3 separate regions of the Homo sapiens genome follow, and all the other regions are linked to region 2. Evidence: promoter capture Hi-C in 16 types of primary human blood cells and fetal thymus (Javierre and others, 2016). All regions are on one chromosome and are shown on one strand. The core of a region is centred on a gene start or on the middle of the fragment in contact, and the rest is flanking DNA. Distances in the headings are between cores, read along the strand shown. Region 1 has its middle 68 kb from the start of MAGED1. Region 2 holds the start of GSPT2 (G1 to S phase transition 2). Region 3 has its middle 36 kb from the start of MAGED1.

Region 1 (3,286 bases), core at 474-2,973, 82 kb before region 2:
TTTCTTTGTTTTTTTGAGACAGGGACTCGCTCTGTTGTCCAGGCTGGGGTGCTGTGCAATCTCAGCTCACTGCAACCTCTGCCTCCCAGGCTAAAGCCATCCTCCCACCTCAGCCTCTGAGTAGCTGGGATATGCAGCCTTTTCAGACTGGCTTATTTTAAAACTCAGTAATATGCACATATGATTCCACCATATCTTTTCATGGCTTGAAAAGGCTTTTCATAGCCCTTTTTTGGCACTAAACTCCATCGTCTGGACGCACTACAATTTATCCATTCACCTACTAAAGGACATCTTGATTGTTTCTACATTTTGGCAATTAGGAATAAAGCTACTATAAACATTTATGTGCAGAGTTTTGTGTAGACATAAGTTTTCAACCCATTTGAGTAAATATCAAGGAACGCAATCGCTGGATCATATGGTAAGACTACATTTAGTTTTGTAAGAAACTGTCAAACTGTTTTCCAAAGTGGCTATACCATTTTGTATTCCCACCAGGAAAGAATGAGAGCTCCTGTCGCTTCATCTTTCCACCAGTATGTGATGTTCTTAGTGTTTTGGATTTGGAACATTCTAATAAATGTGTAGTGGTATCTTTTTTAACTTACAATTTCCTAATAACATATGCTGTTGAGCATCTTTGCACATGCTTATATATTATCTGTATATTTTCTTTGGTGAGGTGTCTTTGTTCAGGTCTTTTGCCTATTTTTTAATCAGTTTATTTCATTTAGTCAACTGATTTTTTTTTACATAAGCATAAAGGTAATTCAATGGAGAAGGACAATCTTTGCCAAAAAAAATGGTGCTGAAACAACTGGAATCCATGTGCAAAATAAAATTATGACACAAACCTCACACTTCACATGAAAATTAATTCAAAATGGATCACGAATCTAAATATAAAACAGAAAATTATAAAACTTCTAGAAGAAAACAGAAAACTTGCATGACCTTAGGCTTTAGCAATGAGGTTTTAGATACAACACCAAACTTATGGGAATTCTGGAATGGCTATGTGAGGAGCTCAGTGAAATCTCCTCCCCAAAGAGACATCTAATAAAACTGGTCAAAACAAGCAAAGCCAATCACCTAAAGTCTCTGGGGATTGATCAACGGCAACAAAATCTACAGAACTAAGTAAGAACAAGGAGAGTCTGCGGCATTTCAGCCAGGGGCTGCTCATTTCTCCCTACATTTCTGTGCTGTCAAAGAACTACATTAGCTGGCTCAGCTGTTTAGCAGTGGCATCAACTCCCAAAGCTTCAGTTCTAAAGAACTGTCATTATTTGTCCTGTCTGTTGGTTCCCCAGAAGACGCTACTTAAAAGGTTTATGTTTGATTCAGTGCAAAACCCATACTAAAAGCCCCTCCACAAATGATAACACTTGGAGCAAACAATAAACTAAATAAAAAGAATGAAAGGAAAAGCTGAGGAATAAGCTATCAATAGGGGATTTGAAGAGTTCTGATATTTTCTAGGGAATATAGAAGACCATCTGCATGTATAGGGCTGTGTGCATGCTCAGGAAACACCTGAGAAGGCCATAAACTCTCACTTCTAACTGACTTTTCGGCTCTTTGCAATCAGGAAGTGAAGGCTAATGTACGGTTGTAAACTGCCTGGCTAAGTGTTGCATGCCCCAAGATGTATACAGATCCCTTTGTTAAAGATGATGCAATTTATTGGTCCCAGGCATTTAAGGAAATCTTTATCCAATGATGGCTAAGCTACTGAGTAGATACTTTAGTGGTTACACATACAATAAATACACTTTGTTCTTTGCTTCTTCAGCCCTTCTCCTCTACGAAGTCAACCTCTTCTGCTCTCAGCTCATTTGAACAAGTATTCTATTTTGTGGAATAGTGTTGCCTGATTCTAGAATCACAAATACGGCCAAGTGAGATCTTTAAACTAAATTTGTTGTAATTTTGTCTTTTGACACATTGTTGCCCTTTAGAGCTCTCTCTGACCCAGAGACTCCCCACTGTGCTGCTGAGTAGCCATCACCTAAACATGTAAGTCAAGTCCCCTCTACAATCTCCCTCTCTGGAAATTCCATGGCCTCTTCCCCTTCAGAGTAGCAACTCCCAAGCCATGGCCTCTGGACAGGCTCCTACTGTGAGAGACTTCCCCAACATGCAAGCCTGTCAACACATCTCCCAATAAAGCTTGTGTGTGATACTGCCACCTCATAGACATATGTCTTTCTTTGATAAGCCCCTAAATCCTTCAAGCCCCCTACAAATATAAAGTAACAGATACGAAAAATTCATTAGAGGGGCTCAAGAGCAGATTTACACTGATAGAAAAAAATAGTCAGCAAGATAGTCCAATTCAGATCATCCAGTCTGAGGAACAGAAATTTTACACACACACACACACACACACACACACACACACACACAGGTTTCTGAGACTGTGTGTGTCTGTGCATATATATATATGTATATATACATATATGTACGTATATATACGTATATATATGTGTATATATACATACGTGTATATATGTATGTGTATATATATATATACAGACACACACACACACACACACACACACACAGAGACAATATAAACACAGCCTCAGAAACTTGTAAGAAATCATCTAGCAACCAAAATACATATAATGGGAATCAGAGAAGAAAATAGAAAAGAGGAAGAAGATATTTGAACAAATTACAGCTGAAAGCATCACAAATTTGATGAAAAAATGTTTACATACACATTCTAAAAAGCAAACAAACACCAAGTAGGAAAAATGAGAAGTATATACACATAGGCACATCATAATAAAAATACTGAAAGCCAAAAACAAGGAGAAAATCCCAAAGAGCAATAAGAGAAAAACAACTCTTCACAAACAAGAAAACAGAAGTTTAACAGTTGACTTCTCCTCAGAAGTCATGGCCAAAAAGCAGTGGGAAGACATATTCAAGTTACAGAAAGAAAAAAAACTGCAATCAAGAATTCTATATCTAATAAAGGAAGTAAAACTATCCTTCAAAAGTGAAGGAGAAAATGGGACATTATCAGATAAACAAAACTGAAAGAGATATCAAGTAGCTGGCAGATGCCCTATGAGCAATACTAAAGGAAGTCCTTCAGTCTGAAAGGAAAGGACACTAGATAGTAACGTGAAATCATAAGATGAAATAAAGTACACTGGTAAAGGTAACTACATAGGTAAATATTAAAAACAGTATAAATATAGTTGTTGCTTTTTTAAAATTTGCAATTCCTATGTTTTCCAGTCTGACTTAAAACATGACTACCACAATA
Region 2 (3,423 bases), core at 681-3,180:
CATACTTGATCTTGTTTCACGAAGCGGGGTCGTGTCTTACTTTTTTCTCCTGATTTTTTGTCTACCAAGGAGATTAACGCTGTTATCTCAACTTCCTCAATACAAGTATGAATGTGCAGCACCGCATTATAACCTGGGCAGATGATGGATTTGTGCTCAATAATCACTATCTGAACATCAAACGTGCGTCCAGAATGGCAGAGGTTACTAGGATCACAAAGTATGAATCCTGGAAGAATCTCTTCTTCTTCAATTCCCTTCAGTCTGATTTTGAGGTTTTCACCTGGGGCTACAAAATCAGTTTCAGTATCATCAGAAAGTATTCCAAGAACTTCTACATTGTGCTTGTTTGGCATCATCACGAGCTGCTGGCCTTTAAAAATGGACCCGGATTCCAGCTTTCCCAGGACCACAGTGCCCATATCTTTGTACTTATCCACAATTGGCAGTCTTATTGGTCCATCAATTGATCTGTTGAAGTTTGGCAAGTTATCCAAATACGGAATAAATGGTAATCCAGTGTACCAAGGGCAGAAATCTGACTGCTCTTTAATATTTGCTCCGGTCAGTCCTGAGCAGGGCATAAAGTGAATGTCCTTTTTTGGACTGAAGCCTACTTTTTTCAAAAAGGGCACCAGTTTTTCTTTACATTCTTCATATCTCTCGATGCTCCAATTTACTGTGGGATCATCCATCTTATTAATAAGCACTATTAAATGTTTTACCCCTGCCGTTTTTGCCAACATCGCATGTTCTCTTGTCTGTCCACCTTTTTCAAATCCAGTTTCAAACTCTCCTTTCCTGGCAGAGATGACCAGCACAGCCAAATCAGCTTGAGAAGCACCACCAATCATATTTGGGACAAAACTCTTGTGGCCAGGGGCATCTAAAATTGTGAAATGTTTCCTTTCTGTTTCAAAATAGGCACGACCCACTTCGACTGTTTTACCCTTGTCTCGTTCCTCCTGATTTGTATCTAAGGCCCAGGACAAATACCAGGTTTCTCTGTTTTTTTCCTTAGCTTCTCTTTCATATTTCTCCAGTGTTCTTTTGTCAACCATTCCAGTCAAAAACATTATCTGTCCTCCGATGGTTGACTTGCCAGCGTCTACATGGCCAATGAATACTACATTTACGTGTTCTTTCTTAGGTGCACCTGAGGGTACGATCACAGATTTGGATTTTCTTATTTCCTCTTTTTCCTCCATCATTTCCTGGCCACTTTCTTCTGGGGGCCCTGAATCTCCCGAGGAACCACCCCCAGGCTCGGCTTCACTTACTTCTTTACTGTGCTCCCATGATTCTTCTAGGGCCATTTCCACCTCTCCATTTTCTACAACAGGTTCTGAAAGTTCCATGGTAACGGCTGAATTGGAACCTTCAAGCGACACTAACGGTTCCTCTCGGGAAGGTTCCACAGGTGCCCCCCGTCCCATCCTTTTACCTTGAGGGTATCCCGCGCCGGTGCAGGTTTCATCGTTGCTGCCGGAGCCGGCCGGGAGGGTGGGCGGCTGAGTCGGGCCCCGCAGGAAGGACGGCACGAACTCCGCGGCGTGTACGTTAGGCACGAAGGGCTTGGCGTTGACGTTGAGCTTACGGCTGAAAGCCGAGCTGAGGGGCTCGCGCTGGGCCTCGGCCACCGCAGAGGAGACTCCATCCCCGCTCGGGGCCGACCCCGGGGATTCCATGTCCACCTGGTCCCAGCAATCGGGCGCCGAGTCGCTGCTGCTGCTGCCCGAATCCATGGTCTCGGAACTTGCTGTGTGGCAGTGAGGGAGCGGGCTCAACAGGCCAGAAGAGCGGGCTCCGCCGGCGGGGTTAAGGCAGCAAGAGCGAAGGGCCAAGGGGTAGCGACACGAACCTTAGCTGCACCGCGGAGGCAGCTAAGCGCCGATGCTGCATTCGCAACTGCGGCGGCAGCAGCAGATATGGCGGCTCAACACTCTCCTCTTGTGTGTGAGCGGATCTCCTCCCCCAAACCCCAACCACTTCCGACTCCTCCACCCCCGACCCAACGCCGGGCGTGGATTGACCCCTCGCTGCTATCCGTACGCTTGGCTTCCTTACTTCTTCTTAGCCACGGGCTAAGTCCAAAAGTATTATTTTTTAAAACGAAAATTTCCATTCACTTTTTTGTTCACACAGTCTGGCAGAGCAATTTGACCACAATCTGATGATTAAACCTAGACAGGAACACATGGTATACAATTCTACCAAAAGATTCAAGTAAAAGTGATCATTTCTATTGAACAAATGGGAGGCAAGATAAGGGTTAACTATACAGAAATTCAGAAACCCAGCAACTGAAGGGAGAGGCAAGGAATGGGTAGGGAGGGACTCATGAAATATATGAGTCTGTAGCCGAACTTAGGAAATGCAACTTAAGATCACTCATTAATTTGAAATCCACAGGCCTTTTGATTTTCCCTTTCCAGTGGGCCCCCATAAGCCTGTAACTTCTGCTGATGGCTTCTATAGTTTAAGGATAGGGTTACAACTTCTTTTCATGTTAAGCACCCTGGCTGTCTGAGGGGAGAGAATTTCCAAGGAGATCCTTGTTCCAGTGAAGCTTCCAGTCACTTCATATGCAGATGCCTGCACAATGGCTGGCCTGCCATTCAATGGTGGATCACGTAGACAAGCACAGGACTCAGATCACTCTTGTTTTACCAACCAACTGAATTCTGGGTTTATCTGCACTACTCCCCAGCACCTCCCTAGTACATCCTGCATCCACAGGCCTCGGGTTTTCCTGCTTCATTCCGGGGGGCCTGGAATCCTACTCACTGCACTGGCTTTGCTCTAAGAAACAATCAGTGTCATGTTGAACCCCTCTACAGTTTATGGTAATGAGACAGGGCTGTAGGTGTCAGCCTAATTAAACCAATTAAGACTTCTGAGATGAACAAAGACCTTAAGACCCTAATCAAAAGAATCTCACTCTCAGAAAGTGTTAACAGTTGAGTCAAAGCCTCAGCGACCTTGTTTGTAAATTAATTTAGTGCAAACTGACATAGAAAATACAAACTTATTCTCTGAATCTGTTTTTAGTCTTCATGTACTCAAATCTGTCACCTTTTGCTTTTATGAATTCAGGTTTTGTGACATACCTAGAAAGACTATTCAGTCCAAACAATCTGCTTAGTACAAGATGGTGTCACATAGATGGATTTATTTTTTTATTTTGAGACAAAGTTTCACTTTTGTTGCCCAGGCTGGAGTGCAGTGGCATGATCTCAGCTCACTGCAACTTCTGCCTCCTGGGTTCAAGCAATTCTCCTGCCTCAGCTTCCTGAGTAGCTGGGATTACAGGCGTCCGCCACCAAGCTCAGCTAATTTTTCTTAATATATATTTTTAGTAGAGACAGGGTTTCACCATGTTGGCCAGACTGGTCTTGAACTCCTGACCTCAGGTGATCCACC
Region 3 (3,477 bases), core at 765-3,264, 110 kb before region 2:
GAAGGTAGATCCTGAATACTTTCTGGTGTAGCACACTGCCTCCTTGAAGTGAGAAGGTAGAAAATCAATTTATTAATATTTCTTATACCTTGAGTTTCTGAAAGTCACGCTTATTTTTGACTCAGTGCTAGAGTACTGCATATTCCTGAAGCAATTTCAAATTCAAGTTCCTCTGAATACTGGGTGATACACAAGCAACCTATAGCTAAATCCATCTGGGGAGAAAATCATGCCACATACCCTAGCTTCTCCACTTCCTTATAGGCTGAATTCTACTTTATTTTGGCTTGTTTGGTTATAATTCCTAGAATGACCTGACTCTGTTCCTGAAGCTCTCACCACATCTGTCCTCTCCATTCCTACTCAATCTTTTTAAGAACTGGGTAACTCTACCTTGTTCCTGATGGTGAAGCTATCCTGGCCAATCCCAGAGCCTGTGCTTTCCATCCCACTCCACGTTGTCTACACCACAGAAAGTGGTTAGGGTGAGCATTTGAGAACAGAATTTTGTTATTAATGAAATCTTTCAAGATTGGAAGTAATCCCTATTCAAAGGGATAATATAAATATGATAAAGTCTTTATAGTCCTTACTAAATTTGATAGAACCCAATGTAGAGTCTCTAATTCCAAAACTGACTGAAGGCTCCCAATACTCACTGAAGAGTGAATCCTGATTTCTGAAGGAATTTCTTAATAATGAATAAAGACTAACACATCCTTGAAGATTTACATATTGCCACTATAAACCCAGAACAATTAAACTCTCTAGGACTCAAACCCTGGCTCTTCCAGTGACTAGTATGTGATCTTGGGGAAGTTTTTCCACCTCATTTCTTTGGTTTCTTCATGTGTGTGTAAAACAACGAGGATTTCTACATTGTATGATTATTGTAAAAAAATGATTAAACAATGTAAAGTTCTTGTAGTGCTTGGCACACTGGCAGGCGTGTAATTATGTGGTAACTATTTTAACTTTTACAAAGAATCTTTTTTTCATTTTTACCAAGACGTGATTTTCTCATAAAGACTTTCCCACACACATTACATTAATAAGATTCCTGCCACTCTGTATTTTCTGATGCTGAGTAAGATTAAACTTCAGATTGAAGGCCTTTCCACACTCACTGCATTTAAGCGAACTCGCTATAGACTTGCCAATATCAAATAAGGCTGATATCCTGCTGAAAGCATACCCATAATTTTTTACGTACATAGAAGGTGATGCCTTTATGAATCCTCTGATAATGAATAAGACTTAGCCTCTAATTGAAGGCTTATTCATTACAGGTACAGAGTGTCTGTCCACTATGAATCTGCAGATGATGAACAAGGATTGATTTCTGTTTGGAGGTTTTTGTATATTCATTGTAAAAGATTATCTTTGATGACAAATAAAATTTGAGCTCTAGATTAAAAACATTTCCATATTCATTACACTGAAAGGATCTCTTTCCATCTCCGCTATAAATTTTCTAATGTTTTTGAAGGTCTGTTATCTCCAGATACCCTTTCCCACATTCATCATTGCATAAGGTTACTTTCCACTATGAATTCTCTCATGTTTAGTAAAGTCTGAGCTGGATCTGAAAGCCTTTCCACATGCATTATGAGCATAGGGTTGTTCTCCACTATGAATTCTCTCATGTTAAAAAAAACAGTCTGAGTTTGTCTTGAGGCCTTTCCCACAGTCAGTACACTCATAGGGATTCTGTCCAGTATAAACTTTTGCATGATTCAAAAAGCTTCATCACCCACTGCAATTTGTCCAGCATTGGGAAAGTTTTTCTACCCTATGAAATTTCTGGTGTTGAAAGAGAATCATGTCCTGCCTTTCCACATTCTTATGGCCATAACAAATCAATGAATTCTCAGGTGTGAGTCCTCAGATGGTAAGTAAGACTGGCATCATGATTAAAAATTTCTTTATATTCACTACATTCACAGCATTCATAGGGTTTCTCTTTATCATGAGTACTCTGAGGTACCTCCCTTGAACACTGACAAAGGGCTTTTTGACATTAATCACATACATAAGACTTTTCCCCATGAGAACCTCCCCAGTGTCTCACAAATTCTAAAACCTTTGCAAGAGTTATGGTCATGTGAATCATATCTCTGTGCTTTTTTTCCTAGAAGATTCCCATATATAATATGCATCTAGCTTGCCTTTCCTCAGTTAATTCACTCACAGCCTTTCTCTTCAGTAGTATAAGTGGCAGTACTGTGCCTGTAACAAATTTCCCTGCGTAAGGAATACATTCAACTCTTCCCTGCCAAGCTTTCCTGCAGCCATTCCTTTACCTATATGTCATCACATGCCAAGTCTTCTCCAAAGAAGAGACTCAGACCAATAGTCCTTGGATTCTGGATCCATAACATTCTTTGGAATTTCACTTTTTCTGAAATTTCCCTCTTTAGAGTAGAACTCACTCTAAATCATAATCTTATCACCTAAAATGATAGACTCACATACATAAATGGGCAAAGAACATGAGTAACAGTTCACAAAAAAGGAAATGCAAACAGATTAATAAATACATGAAATATTCCATTTTGTTAGTCATCAATTAATGTAAAGTGAAACAACCATGAGAGTTTATTTTTCCTTTCTCATTCCCACCAGCAGCTTATATGAATGCCTAACTGACTATTCTCCTTCCTGGTATGAATGTAAATTAGTACAATTTTCTGGAAAACAATTTTGCAGTATGTAATTAAAAACCAGAGAATAGTCATACCTTTTGACCCAATAATCACTCTTCAAGCAATCTATTCCAAACAAATAGTCAGATATCCAAACATCCATGTACAAAACTACTTATGGAAGCATTTATATTAGTGAAAAAATGAAAACACCTGAAAGGTCCAAGAATATGAAATTGATTAAGTAAATTGTGGTATATTTTAATGATGGGATATTATGTAGTCATCAGAACTATTGTCAAAGAATTGTTATCGACAAGTGGGAATTCTTAAAAGATAACTTTTAGAGAAGAAAGCAGGTGTTATGGGCTGAACTGTGTCCCCTCAAAATTCATACGGTGAAGTCCCAACCCCTAGTACCTCAGAACGTGACTACACTGGAGACAAGATCTTTAAAAAGGTAGTTAAATTAAAAATGACATCATTAGTGTCTAGTTAGGTAGTTAAATTAAAATGACATCATTAGAGTTCTAATCCAACATGCCTGGTGTCCTTATAAGAAGAGGAGATAAGCCCGGTGCGGGGGCTCATGCCTGTAATCCTAGCACTTTGGGAGGCCGAGGCGGGCAGATCATTTGAGGTCAGGAGTTTGAGACCAGCCTGGCCAACATGGTGAAAACCCGTCTCTACTAAAAACACAAAAATTAGCCGGGCATGGTGGTGGGCACCTGCAATCCCAGCTACTCAGGAGACTGAGGCAGGAGAATTGCAAAAATAAAATAAAAAGAAGAGGAGATAAAGACAGAGATATACAGAGAAGGAAAACCATGTG

The links. Contacts are between HindIII fragments. The CHiCAGO score rates a contact against its expected background, and 5 or more counts as called.
Region 1: a fragment that was not itself captured here is called in contact with the fragment with the promoter of GSPT2 in region 2 in 1 of 17 cell types (fetal thymus); the score reaches 8.7 in fetal thymus.
Region 3: a contact is called between a fragment that was not itself captured here and the fragment with the promoter of GSPT2 in region 2, in 1 of 17 cell types (fetal thymus). The highest score is 5.9, in fetal thymus.

What each region holds. Positions count from the first base shown.
Region 1 is chrX:51,823,989-51,827,274 of GRCh38, reverse strand. It overlaps a transcript of MAGED1 not described here. Among named protein-coding and RNA genes, the nearest start is that of MAGED1, 68 kb to the left of the region's middle. The HindIII fragment of the contact is 909 bases long and covers 1,269-2,177 here.
Region 2 is chrX:51,741,949-51,745,371 of GRCh38, reverse strand. It overlaps GSPT2 (G1 to S phase transition 2), which reads right to left and starts at 1,930. Exons shown (of 1, transcript NM_018094.5): 1 at 1-1,930. The coding sequence starts at 1,745. The HindIII fragment of the contact is 6,668 bases long and covers 1-2,571 here.
Region 3 is chrX:51,855,565-51,859,041 of GRCh38, reverse strand. It overlaps a transcript of MAGED1 not described here and the pseudogene LOC100631242. Among named protein-coding and RNA genes, the nearest start is that of MAGED1, 36 kb to the left of the region's middle. The HindIII fragment of the contact is 536 bases long and covers 1,747-2,282 here.